Linked DNA regions of Homo sapiens: all the other regions are linked to region 2. Evidence: promoter capture Hi-C in 16 types of primary human blood cells and fetal thymus (Javierre and others, 2016). All regions are on one chromosome and are shown on one strand. The core of a region is centred on a gene start or on the middle of the fragment in contact, and the rest is flanking DNA. Distances in the headings are between cores, read along the strand shown. Region 1 overlaps LOC124903530 (a long non-coding RNA gene). Region 2 holds the start of SCAMP5 (secretory carrier membrane protein 5). Region 3 has its middle 11 kb from the start of C15orf39.

Region 1 (4,640 bases), core at 1,107-3,606, 140 kb before region 2:
TTTGTGCAAAGGGACATGGGGAGGGTATAGAAGTTTGTACAGGCATTCTGCAGCTCCCACACACGCGAACCCGAGGCTGCTCCTGGTGCAGGATGGAGCCTGTGATCAAATACATTCCAGTTACAGTTATGTAACAAAACACCCCAAGGCTTAGTGGCATGAAACAGCAACAATCATTATATTATTATGCCTCAGGGACTGAGGCACGCCAGGGATGCCTTGCCTAAGCCTCCTTCCCTGTGTCCCCCTTCCAGGAGGGGAAACCGGGGGTGGGAGAGAGGGCAGATTGGAGCCATGTGGCCAGATGGTTCTGCAGGAGGCATTTTCGGTTTCCGTGGGGATGCTAGGAACGCCAGTCCGGAAGGAGGGAAAGGTGCCTTCAGCATAACAAGACCCTCCACAGGGAAGGGGGCAAGGTCATGAGAATGGAGGAAAGCGAGGGCCTCAAGCTAAAGGACACACCCCCCTCTGGGACCTTTGGAAGAAAGAAGTCCTCCCAGAGGGAAGGAGAGTTTGCCCTCAGGTCCTTAAAAGGAGAAAAGGCAAAGCAGTCTGGCTGGTAGAGAAGCCACTGGCTGGGAGGAAGAACGCATCATTGTCTCCAACCTCAGGCCAGACGCATCCCACCAGGGGAATCCCAGACACCCAGGAGGCCTCCCAGGGGCTGGACTGGGCTTTAGTTTCTGAAGGGATTGATAGCCAGTCCTGGCAGGGGGAGTTGCAGAGACAGCAACTCAGGAAGGTTAGAGAGAGGGCTGGGCATCAGCGGGGAGTGGGGAGAAGAAGTGGGTCAAGGAAGGAGGGCGTCTCCGCATAGGCACCCCAGAAGGTCCTGGCTGTGAGAGAGAGCCCCCTTCTCCGAGAGGAGTTAGTTCTCCAAAGGCATAGCCTAATCCGCCATATCCATCCAAGCGCGCAGTTTGCTTCTGTTCTCAGGCTCTGGGCAGCTTTGGGACGGAAAGGGTTCCTTTCAGTGGGCTGTGCTGCCTGGAGGCAGCCAGGACCAGGTCTGGGCAGGTCTGGTAGGTGGCAAGGTAAGTGAAGAGGGGCCACTTTGCTCAGCGAGCTGAATAGCAAAGGCCTACACGGGATTGCCAGATTTACCAAACAACAATACAGGACTCCATTACATTTGAATTTCAGATAAACATTGAATTTTTTTTTAGGATGAGGAGGTTCTATGCAGTATTTGGGATATACTTATACTAAAAGAGTATTTGTTATCTTAAATCTAATTTTAACTAAGCTTTCTATATTTTATCTGGCAGCCCTAGGCCTGCCCCACTAGGGTCCCCAGTTGCCCCTCACAAGGACCATCCCCAGACACCCTTGCCCTAAAGCATAGAGACCCAGGACCTTGGCAACAGAAGGAAGTGGCCTTTTTTGGTGCATTCTAGAATTCCTGGCAGGCCTCCCCTCTCCCCAGCACCTGCCTCCATTCCTTCCGCACACATTTTTAGGTCTGGCACCAGAGATCCTATGGCAGAGTAAGCCCTGGGAGGATGCTAGGTGAGTTGCAGTGCATCCCACCTTACTTGTGTATCTGCAGCCCTTCACTAATCATGGCTGCAATGGCCTTTTCTTGGAGGAGTCAGAGAGATTGACTGTGGTACTTGGGCTTAAAGAATGCTTGGGAGAAAATGGAGATGGACGCAGGGACAGAAACGCATGCAAATACGTTCTGGGAATCCCAGTAACTTCTGTGGCTTGACCTGTGTTTGGATAAAGAGCGAGGACATGCCAGTGGCAAAGAGGCAAAGGCCAGTCACTTAAGGCTTTGGATCTTAGGCCAAGGCATCTGTACTTTACACTCAGCAGTAGAGAGCCATGGAAGAGGTGCTTTAAAATTGTTTATTTGGGTGTGGTGGCTCACACCTGTAATCTGAACACTTTGGGAGGCCAGGTGGGAGGATTACTTGAGCCCAGGAATTTCTGATCAGCCTGGGCAACATGGTGAAACCCCAACTCTACAAAAAATACAAAAATTAGCTGGGCATGGTGGCATGCACCAGTAGCCCCAGCTACTCAGGAGGCTGAGGCAGGAGGATCAATGGAGCCCGGGAGGTCAAGGCTGCAGTGAGTTATGATTATGCCAGTGCACACCAGTCTGGGTAACAGAGCAAGATCCTGTCTGAAAAAATTATTTATTTGTTGGTTAAAGTAAGTAAACAAGTAATACAATACGGAACAGCAGTGTTGTCAAAGTATGGCCTATGGACCCTGGAGGTCCCCAAGATACTTAGAGATCTGCAAGGTCAAAACTATGTTTATAGTAATACTCAGACATTCTATGCCCTTTTCATTCAAATGATGTGTTATCATTTGACTGACTGCTTGAGAGCAATGGCGAGTGAACGTGTCATTGCTTCAACACAAGTTAAGGCAGTAGTGCCTGAGAGGATCAAAATATGCCACTCCAAAATAAGCCACTTTGGCAGAAGAACTATTTTGAGTGGAATGCAACTGGGAATCAACAGTTGCAGGATGAGTTCTCTGCTTTCCTCTTAGCTGCAAAAAACAGGGCATAAATTTCCCTTTGTGAATACCAAGATGATTTTGCATAAACAGACCTTACTAAAATAACCTCTATCGTCCATTCGTTCCCCCATATATTTCCTAGCCACTTCCCCACAATTTGTCACCCTTGATGCCCAAACCCTCTTTCCTTTGTTAAAATGTTGTGTAAGTCCCCATGTCTAATGACTTCTTTGAGTTTCAGTTCTTTTCTGTGAACTCTCATGCAGGTAAATATTCATAAAAGTTGTGTGCCTTTTCTCCTGTTATTCTGTCCTTTGTCAGTTTAATTCACAGACCTCTAATCAATGAACCTGAGTGCAGACAAAACGTTTTTCCTCCCTGACACTGCAGCCTTGACATCCTGGGCTCAAGCGATCCTCCCACTTCAGCCTCCAATTAGCTGGAACTACAGGCACGTACCACCACATCGGCTATTTTTTTATTTTTTGTAGAGACGGTGTCTCAGTATGTTGCCCAGGCTAGCATTGTATTCTTCATTGCCATGTATTTGCAATTTAAAAACATTTCATTTATGAATGACCTTGATGGAACAGTAAAAAATACTTTTATTAACTCTCAATCTGTGAGCAGTATATATCTTTCTATGCTTGATATTTTGTGTGATGAAAGGAGGAGTATGTAGAAAGCACTTCTGCTGCTTACCAAAGGATGATGGGCTTCTCTAAGGAAAAGCGCTTGTGTGATTGTCTGAGTTGTCAGCCAAACTAGCTGCTTTTTTCATAGAACACCATTTTTACTTGAAAGACTGACAAACTATGGTTATTCCGACTGGTATTTAGCAGACATTTCTTAACAATAAATAAAGTGAAACTGTCACTCCATAAAAGCAACTGACAGCATTTGTTGCCAATGATAAAATTTGAGCTTTCAAGCAAAAGTTAGAATTTTGGAAAATGTGTATCCACCATTGTGAGCTTAACAAGCTTCTAAGTACTTAAACACTTTTTTTTTCCTTTCTTTTCTTTTTTTTTTTTTTGTGTGAGATGGAGTCTTGCTCTGTCACCCAGGCTGGAGTGCAATGACATAATCTCAGCTCACTGTAACCTCTGCCTCCTGGGTTCAAGCAATTCTCCTGCCTCAGCCTCCTGAGTAACTGGAATTACAGGCACACGCCACCACACCTGGCTAATTTTTGTATTTTTAGTAAAGATGGGGTTTCACCATGTTGGCCAGGCTGGTCTTGAACTCCTGACCTCAGGTGATGTACCCACCTCGGCCTCCCAAAGTGCTGGGATTACAGGCATGAGTCACCGTGCCCAGCCTTACTTAAACAATTTTCTTATGAGATTAGTAGTGATATTAACACACATGATTTTTCAATATTGTCTAACAAAATGTGTCAAAAATTGGATGATCTGCATAACTCTATCAGTACTTTCCAAATGACAAATGCATAATGTTACAGAACTACACTCACATAAAAGATTCACTTAAGGTACAAGACAGGGCTGAGTATAGTGGCTCATGCCTGTAATCCCAACACTTTGGCAGGTAGAGGTGGGAGGATCACTAGAGGCGAAGAGCTGGAGACCGGCCTGGGCAACATAGCAAGACCCCATCTTTATTTTAAAAAATAAAAAATTAGCCAGGTGTGGTGGCACACACCTATAGTTCCAGCTACTAAGGAGGCTGAGACAGGAGGATTGCTTGAGCTCAGGAGTCTGAGGTTGCAATGAGCTATGATCAAGCCACTGTACCCTAGCCTGGGTGACAGAGTGAAACCCTGTCTTAAAAAAAAAAGTGGGGGGACAAGAGAGAGCAATGGCTTTTGTTTTGTTTTGTTGTTTGAGACAGAGTCTTGCTCTGTCACCCAGGCTGACGTTCAGTGGCAAAATCTCGGTTCACTGCAACCTCTGCCTCCCGGGTTCAAGCAATTCTTGTGCCTCAGCTTCCCAAGTAGCTAGAATTAGAGATGTGCATCACCAAACCCAGCTAATTTTTGTATTTTTAGTAGAGGCGGGGTTTTGTCATGTTGGCCTGTCTAGTCTCAAACTCCTGGCCTCATGTAATACGTCTGGCCTCAGCCTCCCAAGGTGCTGGGATTACAGGCATGAGCCACGGCGCCCAGCCGGAACAATGAGTTTTAATGTAACAGTATGAAT
Region 2 (4,412 bases), core at 1,206-3,705:
CCTGCTCACCAGTATGGGCCCCTCATCCCTGGCACAGAAATGGTGATTCCTTTTTGCTGCCCAGAGCCAACCTGCTAAGATGGAAGTTTCCCCCTCCTGCTCTACCTCCAATCCCCTCATCCCACTCCTAGCCCCATCTTCTGCCCTGAAATCCCAGAACTATGAATAATCCTCAGAAAACAGCAGTCTCCTGGCCATGCTGTCCCTGTCCTACTGATGACTATTCAGTAGCCTCCTACAGATCTTTGCCTGGCATTCAAGGCTTTGTGCCAGTCAGCTACAAACCTCCCTCCCACCACCTTTGGCTGCTCACAGGTTGACCTGCCTCCTACACTCCCAGCCTCATGCAGGAGATCATCTCTAGCCGCCCCCTCTGCTTCCAGTGCCCCTAAATTGGCAGCACTATCAGCTCCTCTAAGTCCTGCTACCTTCTCACATCCCACCCCTTCTGGGAAGCCTTTCCAAAAATCGCTGCTCTGCATCCCGCTGCATACATTTTGAGTCAGTCATTGGGCACTAAGTGTTCACGTCTTCTCCCATAATCTCCTCACTCCCTCCTGGATGGAGTTTCCAGGAGGGACCCAGCACAGAGCACAGTCAATCCATATACTTGCTTAAGACTTGGACACTTTCCCAATGGGTGGGAGGGAGGCAATTAACGCCCTCCCCCAATCAGATTAAGCCCAAAGCTGCTGTCAAACCTGCTGTATCACACTTCCTCCAGGAAACCTTCCGAAACTCCTGGCTGGCAGCAGGGAAGGAAGTGCAGCCTGTAAAGGAAATGCTGTGGGGGGCAAGGGGTGGGGATAGGGACAGGGAGGCAGAGGGATAGGGGAGGAAAGGAAAAGGAAGAGGGAGAAGAAAGGGGGGATGCTCTAAACTAGAACAAGGAGCATCCTCAAGGGAGGTCACTACTTAGTCCTATTATTTCATCTCTAGAGAAAGGTGCTAGAAAGAGATGCCCAGAGAGGGGAGGTGACTTGGGGAACTTGCTTGGAGGTGGCCACTCAGGAAACGGTTAAAGAAACAGCCACAGAGCCCAAGGTCTCTCTCTAGAACTCCCCTCCTGGGACCCCACTAACTCTCCAAGGGGTTTGCTAAACCTAAGACCCTCTTTCAGGGGCCCATTCACCAGAGACAGCCCCCTCTCAGCTCTAGAGACTTTGCCCTAAGGCTCACCAAGCCCAGAACAAACCTAAGTTAGCAAGACCTGTGTAGCCCCAAACAAAATCTCTCTGCCAATCATGCCCCTGCAAGAACCATCTCCCTCTTTCAGAGCCCTGCTCCGTGAGGCAGAACATGTAGGGGACAGGTTGCAAATTTCTCCAGACTCCACCACCCCATGGGCAGTCACATGGCTGAGCTCCCAGGCTCAGCCCCCAACAGCTGTGCTCGTTTTCATCCCTGTGCCTTTGCCCATACATTCTCCTGGAATGCCCTCTCTTGCCTCTCCTCCCACCCAAATCCCATCACCTCTGGAAGTCTCCTATTCGCTAGCTGTCGCCTCCCTTTCTCTCTGTGTCCCTGGGAAAGTCTGCCAGGCCCTCACTGATCTCCCCATCGGGAAGCTGGGACATTACTTGTTTAAGCCGCCTGTGACAGTGAATGCTCAGTCCGAGTCTCTACTTGGTTCCCCCAACCCACAGACCAGGAGCTCCCCGAGGCGGAGGACAAGGATCGGTTCACAAACACCTCACCTCCATCCTCGTGACCTCCGGCCAGCGTTGAAATGAGCCAAATCCGGCGCCCCCAACTCACCACCCAAAGCCCTGATGGAGCCCGCCTGGTGGCCTGGGCCAGCGCGCCCGTCGCCTCGCAACCCTGGGGCGGCTGAGGTCCGCCATCCAAAGGTCGGCCGCCCGAGGGAGGTGAGGGAAGTCAACCCGGGTCCACCTGCAGGCGCTAGTTGGAAGGAAAGGCCCAAAGGAAGCCACGGGCACCCCCTTCCAGTCGCCCCCATCCCCGGCTGCGCACGCCATCTCCAGAAGGCCGGTTTCCAGGGAACGCCAGGTGGGGCTGGCGGGGGGGATGGAGGGCCCAAAGCTCAGGCTCCAGATCCAGGGTCTGACGTCACCCAAAGGCCCAGTTCCCTCTGCGGGAGCCACAGATGGGAATGGGGGGGCTTGGGGGGCTCGGGGGGCCTGGGTGCGCCCTGAGCGCTCTCCCCCAGCCCCAAACAGTAAAGGTCACCTCCACTCCCACCTCTCCAGCAGTTCGGCCTTCTTCCTGCATCCAAAGGTGAAGTGTAGGAGGAACAAAGCTGCAGCCAGCGACCCCCACACCTCTCGCCCCGCGCCCAGCTTCCCTTCAAAGCTCTCCTCCCAGCCTTCATGCCCAGACTCACCTGCCGCGGCCGTTCGGCTGCCGAAAGGCCGCAGCGCTGCGCTGAGCTGCGCTGCACCCGAGCGATGCGGCGCGGAGCCGGCCGCGAGCCGCTCCGGGGCTGGGGGCGGGGAGCGCGCGCGCGCGCGCGCGCGCCCGAGGCCGTCTCTGCGCGCGCCCGCGCCGCCACTGCCTGCAGCAGTCACTCTCGCGAGACTTCCGCTCTGCTCCTAAGGCTGCTCCTCCTGAGCTCGCGAGAAGGACGACCCGGCCGCCCCGGCATCTTCCAGGAGCTGTCCGAGGTGCTAGTTCCCGGGCCCCGGCCGGATCAGGTGGTTGACGGGCACCTCAGGGACAAGAGCCTGGCGTGTAGGTGGAAGGAAGAGACCCAGAGATGGGAGCCTGGCACCAGCAGCCAGAGCCTCAGCTTCCATATCTGTAAACTGGGGAGAATAACCTCCTATACCTATGCCAGGAGCCTCTGGGACGTGCCAGAAAGGAGTGAGAAAGAGCTGAAAGCAGGAGAGTGTGGTGACTGCGGAAGGTCCTTCAGATCTGCAGGCGCAGGGGGAAAGAGAGAACAGAGGACGGAAGATCGGAGATGATATTCAGAGAGGCAAGGACACAGATCCACGGAAAGACGACATAGGAGGACGAGAAAGAAGAGCTGCAAACAGAGACAGAGACACACGGAGAGAGAGACTGAGATGAGAGCTCAAGGCCTGGAGAGAAAAAAGACATGGAAAGATAAGATAGGTAAGGGAGCATAATGAAGCAAGAAAGAGGCAAGAAATAGAGACAAATTACGCAAAGGAGCAGAGAGAGAGAGAGAGAGAGAGGAGAGGCTTAGAAAAAGAAAGAGACTCAGAAAAAGGAATGAAAGAGACAGTGATATGCAGAGATGAATACCAAGAGAGAGTAGAGGCAAGGGTAAATGTTTAAAAACCCAGAGCTTTGGAGGGTTGAGAGAGACCCACTTGGAGAGATGGGCTGGGAGTGAAGACAGGATTTTATTGTGATTGGTGTTTACATAGTAAACCTCCGTGGGATCTCTACAGGCAGGGCCAGGGCCACTGTCTGTCCTGCCAGCCAATTGCTCCTTCCCCTACACCATACACCCACCCTCCACCCCCCACCCACACCATCCTAGGCCTGGAAGGGGGCCTCAGTGGGTGGGAGACACTGCAGGGATTCTTTGCCTAGAATAAGGGCCCATTGTCTGGCTCCATCCTGCCAGGAGTGGGGCCTCACTCCCACAGCTGGCATGAAAAGGGGGTGGCAGTGAAAAAAGGCAGACAAGAACTAGTGTGGCAGAGGGGAAAAGGAGGGAGAGAGCCTCGGTGCCTGGGAAGGGCTGAGCAGGAAGCATCATCCTGCCACCAGGCCAACCAGGAAGGAAGGGTCCTGGGCTTCGGGGCAGGACAACTGGGTTCTGTGTCAGTCCTGTCCCTGGTTGACCCACATGCTGTCTCTCCCTGCTATAATGCAAGCCAAGGCTGATTTACAGAGCTGTGGAGAGCAGCCAATGAGATGACAACTGGGAACCTGTCGAAGTTATCAAGTGTGGCTGCTACAGGGAAAATGTTGGGAGTCCATGTGGGCCTCAGGAAAGATATAGGGGTTCACATAGGCCTTTAGGAGAGAGATCTGAGGTCCACACTGGGATCCACAAGGAAGATGTCTGGAAACCACATGGAATTTATAGGAGATATCTTGTGGTTCATGTAGGTCCTACAAGGGAAATATTGGGGTTCCCGTCTGATGACCACGGACAATTTTTCTCCACTCAGAAGAATCAGAAGGGTCTCCTATTTGATAAACAACTAACGTAGGAAGAGTGAGCAGGTCCAAAGTCAGAAGCCCACCTTTGTCCCAGTAGATTGTACCTTTCCTATTCAGGTAAATGGAAGGGAACAATGATCACTTAAACAAACGTTTACTTAATAGGCATTTGCTGGTTACCTACCATGAGAAGAAGCATACAGCAGTGGTTAAGAATATCAACCTAGAAGGCAGACCTTGCCCCTTCCCTGCAGTGTGAATTTGAGAAGGTACTAATCCTCACTGAACCTTAGTTTTCCACATATGTA
Region 3 (4,120 bases), core at 410-2,909, 200 kb before region 2:
GGCCCAATGTGGCCAAAGTCTTCCCTGGGTCCAGGGTGCTGAGAATGACTTGTGCCAGAAGGGTGGGCTGTGAAGAAGGGAGTCTCGGAGAGGGGAGAGGGTGCTAGGCTTTTCCTTTCTGGATGCAGCAAGGTAGACTCCTTAGCTCCCCTGCCCCTTAGGGAGCAGACAGTGTCATCTCCAATTTGTGAGGCCTCTAGAGTCACTGGCCCCTTACCAGCTATTCACAGAGGGGCAGGAGCAGGCCAAGGTCCAAAAGAGCCAGGTGTGGGGTGAGTCCCAGAACCCTCCAAGGTGACCCGGCTCAGTGGTGTCACTCTGTTCTCACAGCCCATCTCCAAGACCACCCAGTGCCACGTCTGCTGGCTGCAGCAGGCCTGGAATCCTCAGGACAGGCCGTGGGCCTCCCTCCGGCTCGAGTCACTCCCCAGAGCAGAACATTCTGCCCCCAAATTCTTGATGAACCCCTCCCAACAAGCAGTGGCTTCAGAACACCAATCTTTTCCCAGAGAGAAACCCAGGACCAGGAGAGATATGGAGGAGACCAGAACGCATTTCAAAGAGCTGATCTTGCTAATAAATCAACAATTCCTGAACAAACACAGCCCACCCTGCACCAGCTCTGGGCTCCCTCAACCTCCCTCCAGACCCTATTCCACAGCCCCCTCTGCTCCAGCAGTCCCCACCTCCTGTCAACCAGGTCATCTATGGCTCAGGTTCCAATTAGTTCAGTAATTAGCACCTCATTGGGCCTGTCTGCCTGCGAACAGCTCCCCTGGGGAGGGTTTCAGGAGGTCTCCATGACCTCAGGGCCCAGAGCTCAGGCAAGTCCAGGCTGGCAAGGCCCCAGGTGGCCTCCCTGCACCCCAGCATAGGGCAGGGGAACAAAAGAATCCCCCAGGGAATTGGGTAAGGGGCAGGGAGAAGAGGGTCCACACCCAGAACGAGCCTTCTCCAGCACTTCCGGGGCCCGTGTGTCAGCTCCACACACACCTTCCTCAGCCATCTCTGTCTAGTCAGTGTGCCCTGGCTGGCTGGGGAAGCCAGGAGGATGCCAAATCCAGCTGAGGTCAGGTCAGTAAGGGAAAGTCTCCATGGGTGGCTTTGGCACAGCCAGGGATTTAGAAAGAAGCTTGGCTTATCCCTTCAGGCCTCCATCCGGGGCCTCCTGGCTCTCTCGGGCGTCACCCCCTGATGACCCCTCAGTCCCTGGCATCCATCTTTCACCTGACAGTCCCTCAGCTCTTGAAGAGAGTAGAATGCCCCCCAGCCCAGCCCATGGTCAGGCTGCAAGTGGCCGAACTATGGGCTCTGGCTAGAAAGGCTGCCAGAGCTGAGAGCGGGGAGTAGGGGACAGCCTGTGTGGTGGGGTCAGAGCGAGCCTCCAGCCAAGAAAGGAAAGGAGAGGTGAGGTGCTGCCAGTGGACGTGTGGGCACCGTGTCACAGTGGAGTGGCTCAGGAGTAAGGGGAGGTCAAGGCTTCCTCTTGCTGAGCTCAGATTCCCCATCTTTAACATTGGAACAAGAATGGTCATAGCCCCCAGCTTCCGGAGATGATGGCAAGAGGTGGGTAGTGTGGTGAGCAACGGAGCAACGTGGTGGGAAGCCAGCAGCAGTGGCACAGGGCAGAAGGTGAGCATTCCAGGGAAGCCCCCTGTTGTCTCCCTCCCTGACATAGAGCAGCACTGGCCAGGGAGAGGGGTCTTGATGGGGGGTGGGAGTCCACACTGTATAACTCGGGCTTGGTGAAGGGAACACAGGTCAGGCCCAGGGAACCAGTGTGAACAGTGCAGGTGAGAGGTGCAGGTTACCCAGACAGGCCAGAAGTCAGCCTTGACCTCAGCCCCCAGACTGAGAGGTGTCCTTGGGCTGACCCTGAGCCGAGGCCAGTCATGAGATTAGAACCCCAGCAGCAGGAGCCAGGCAAATGCCCTGCAGCTGTGGAGGAGGCTTGGCTGCAGCAGCATTTGACCCCAGAATGGGCCTCCAGCTCCTTCCAGAAAAGTCCCACTGCTGGGAAACTGCTGCATCACTCTCCTGGTGCTGACACCCCCTGTTAGTGTCTCCTTGCTTGGATTAGTATTGCCTTCTTAGGGATACTCTGGTGACAAAACCAGCACCAGCCACCTTATCCAGGCCCAGATCCCAACTTGCACTCTTGGCTGTGGGACTTGAAGCAAGCTTCTTAACCTCTCTGAGCTCCAGGGTCTTTGACTGTGGGATGATGAATTGTGCCCCCAGGTTTGTGGTAGGGTCAGGTGCCCAGTGTTCTAATGCCACTGGATCAGTCCCGGCAGGCAGTGAGCCTCAGTGAACCCGTGTTCCTCCTTCCTCAGGCCAATTCCTAGGAAGCAGGCAGGACTCTGAGAAGATGTGGTGCTGAGACCAGCTTGGTCGTGGAGACCCTAACCCAGCAGCGCTAGAGGAATTAAAGACTCACACACAAAAATATAGAGTGCAGAGTGGGAAATCAGGGGACTCACAGCCTTCAGAGCTGAGAGCCATGAACAGAGATTTACCCACATATTTATTGACAGCAAGCGAGTGATAAGCATTGTTTCTATAGATTATAGATTAACTAAAAGTATCCTATATGGGAAACAAAGGGATGGGCCGTAATAAAGGGATGGGTCTAGCTAGTTATCTGCAGCAGGAGCATGTCCTTAAGGCACAGATCGCTCATGCTATTGTTTGTGGTTCAGTAATGCCTTAAGCGGTTTTCCGCTCTGGGTGGGCCAGGTATTCCTTGCCCTCATTCCGGTAAAACAATAACCTTCAACATGGGCATCGTGGCCGTCACGAGCATGTCACAGTGCTGCAGATATTTTGTTTATGGCCAGTTTTGGGGCCTGTTTATGGCCAGATTTGGGGGCCTGTTCCCAACAACGTGGGGCTGAAGTCTGCTTTCCCTTCTCTAGGAAGAAGTTCTGTGAAGGCCAGAGAGCCAAAACCACCTCCTCAGTCTGCCATTTTTCCACAGGCTTGTGAAAGGAACTGGATCATCTGTTTAGGGCTTCTAAAAGTTATTAGGGGCCAGGTGCAGTGGCTCACACCTGTAATCCTAGCACTTTGGGAGACCAAACCTAGAGGATTGCTCAGGCCCAGGAGTTTGAGACCAGCCTGGGTAACATAATGAGACCTTCTCTATACCAAAAAAAGAAAGAAAGAAAAAAAAGCCAGGCGTGATGATGCACACCTGTAGTTCCAGCTACTCAGGAGGCTGAGGTGGGAGGATTGCTTAAGCCCAGCCCAGGAGGTCGGGGTTTCAGTGAGCCGTGATTGCGCCACTGCACCCCAGCCTGGGAGACAGAGCAAGACCCTGTCTCAAAAACAAAAACAAAACAACAAGAACAAAAATAACAGTTACTAGGCTCTGAGGAAGGTTGCCTTTGGAGACTGAGTCACAGAACTTGACCTCTTAATTACTGAACTTTTGTTATAAATTAATTTCCTTCCTTGTTCCTGGCTTAGACCAGATGGCCCTAAGATAGAAGACCCCTTGACTGAGATGAAAGACCCCTTAACTATTACATCCTTATGTGGAATGTCAAATATACTTTTCCCGAAAAAGAAACACTGCCTTTAACCAATCAATTGCTGTAACTATGTATGAAAAATGATGTAATCCTGTTTACATCCTTGCCTATATAAATGATCCTCAAATCTCTCCACTTCAGAGCACCTTGGACCCCATTTTTTTGGAGACTGTGCCTTCCTCAAACTTTGCACTCCAATAAACTCAGTATTTAATCATATTGCCTGAATCTCATCATTCAGGTTGACAGGCTCAATGCAGAGTGGGCAGGGGATAAACAGTCATTCCAGTAAAGCCCTCTGCTTTCAGGCCTCCCACCCCCATCCCAAGCTCTGCCCAGCCCAGACTAGACCATCTTCATCCCAATCCCAGCCCATTCTAATCCCAGCTCCCAGGCCCAGTTCTGTCCCCATTCCTAACCTAAGTCTGGGGCAGTAGCCAGGGACCACAACAGGACACTCCTAATGGGGACAAAAGGCCTGGAAAGGGGTTGTTCAATTTTTTTTTTTTTTTTTGAGAGAAAGTCTCACTCTGTCTCCCAGCTTGGAGTGCAGCGGTGAGATCTCGGCTCACTGCAACCTCTGT

Evidence for each region. The method cuts DNA at HindIII sites, captures the fragments that hold promoters and counts their contacts. A CHiCAGO score of 5 or more calls a contact.
Region 1: a contact is called between a fragment that was not itself captured here and the fragment with the promoter of SCAMP5 in region 2, in 1 of 17 cell types (monocytes). The highest score is 5.7, in monocytes.
Region 3: a fragment that was not itself captured here is called in contact with the fragment with the promoter of SCAMP5 in region 2 in 3 of 17 cell types (monocytes, M1 macrophages and fetal thymus); the score reaches 10.1 in monocytes.

The regions. Positions count from the first base shown.
Region 1 is chr15:75,134,351-75,138,990 of GRCh38, reverse strand. LOC124903530 (a long non-coding RNA gene) reads right to left here. Exons shown (of 2, transcript XR_007064721.1): 2 at 1-99. Among named protein-coding and RNA genes, the nearest start is that of C15orf39, 65 kb to the left of the region's middle. The HindIII fragment of the contact is 2,215 bases long and covers 1,249-3,463 here.
Region 2 is chr15:74,993,606-74,998,017 of GRCh38, reverse strand. It overlaps SCAMP5 (secretory carrier membrane protein 5), which reads right to left and starts at 2,455. Exons shown (of 7, transcript NM_138967.4): 1 at 2,345-2,455. The HindIII fragment of the contact is 14,301 bases long and covers 1-4,412 here.
Region 3 is chr15:75,189,185-75,193,304 of GRCh38, reverse strand. No RefSeq gene overlaps it. Among named protein-coding and RNA genes, the nearest start is that of C15orf39, 11 kb to the left of the region's middle. RefSeq lists an enhancer at 732-1,434. The HindIII fragment of the contact is 1,049 bases long and covers 1,135-2,183 here.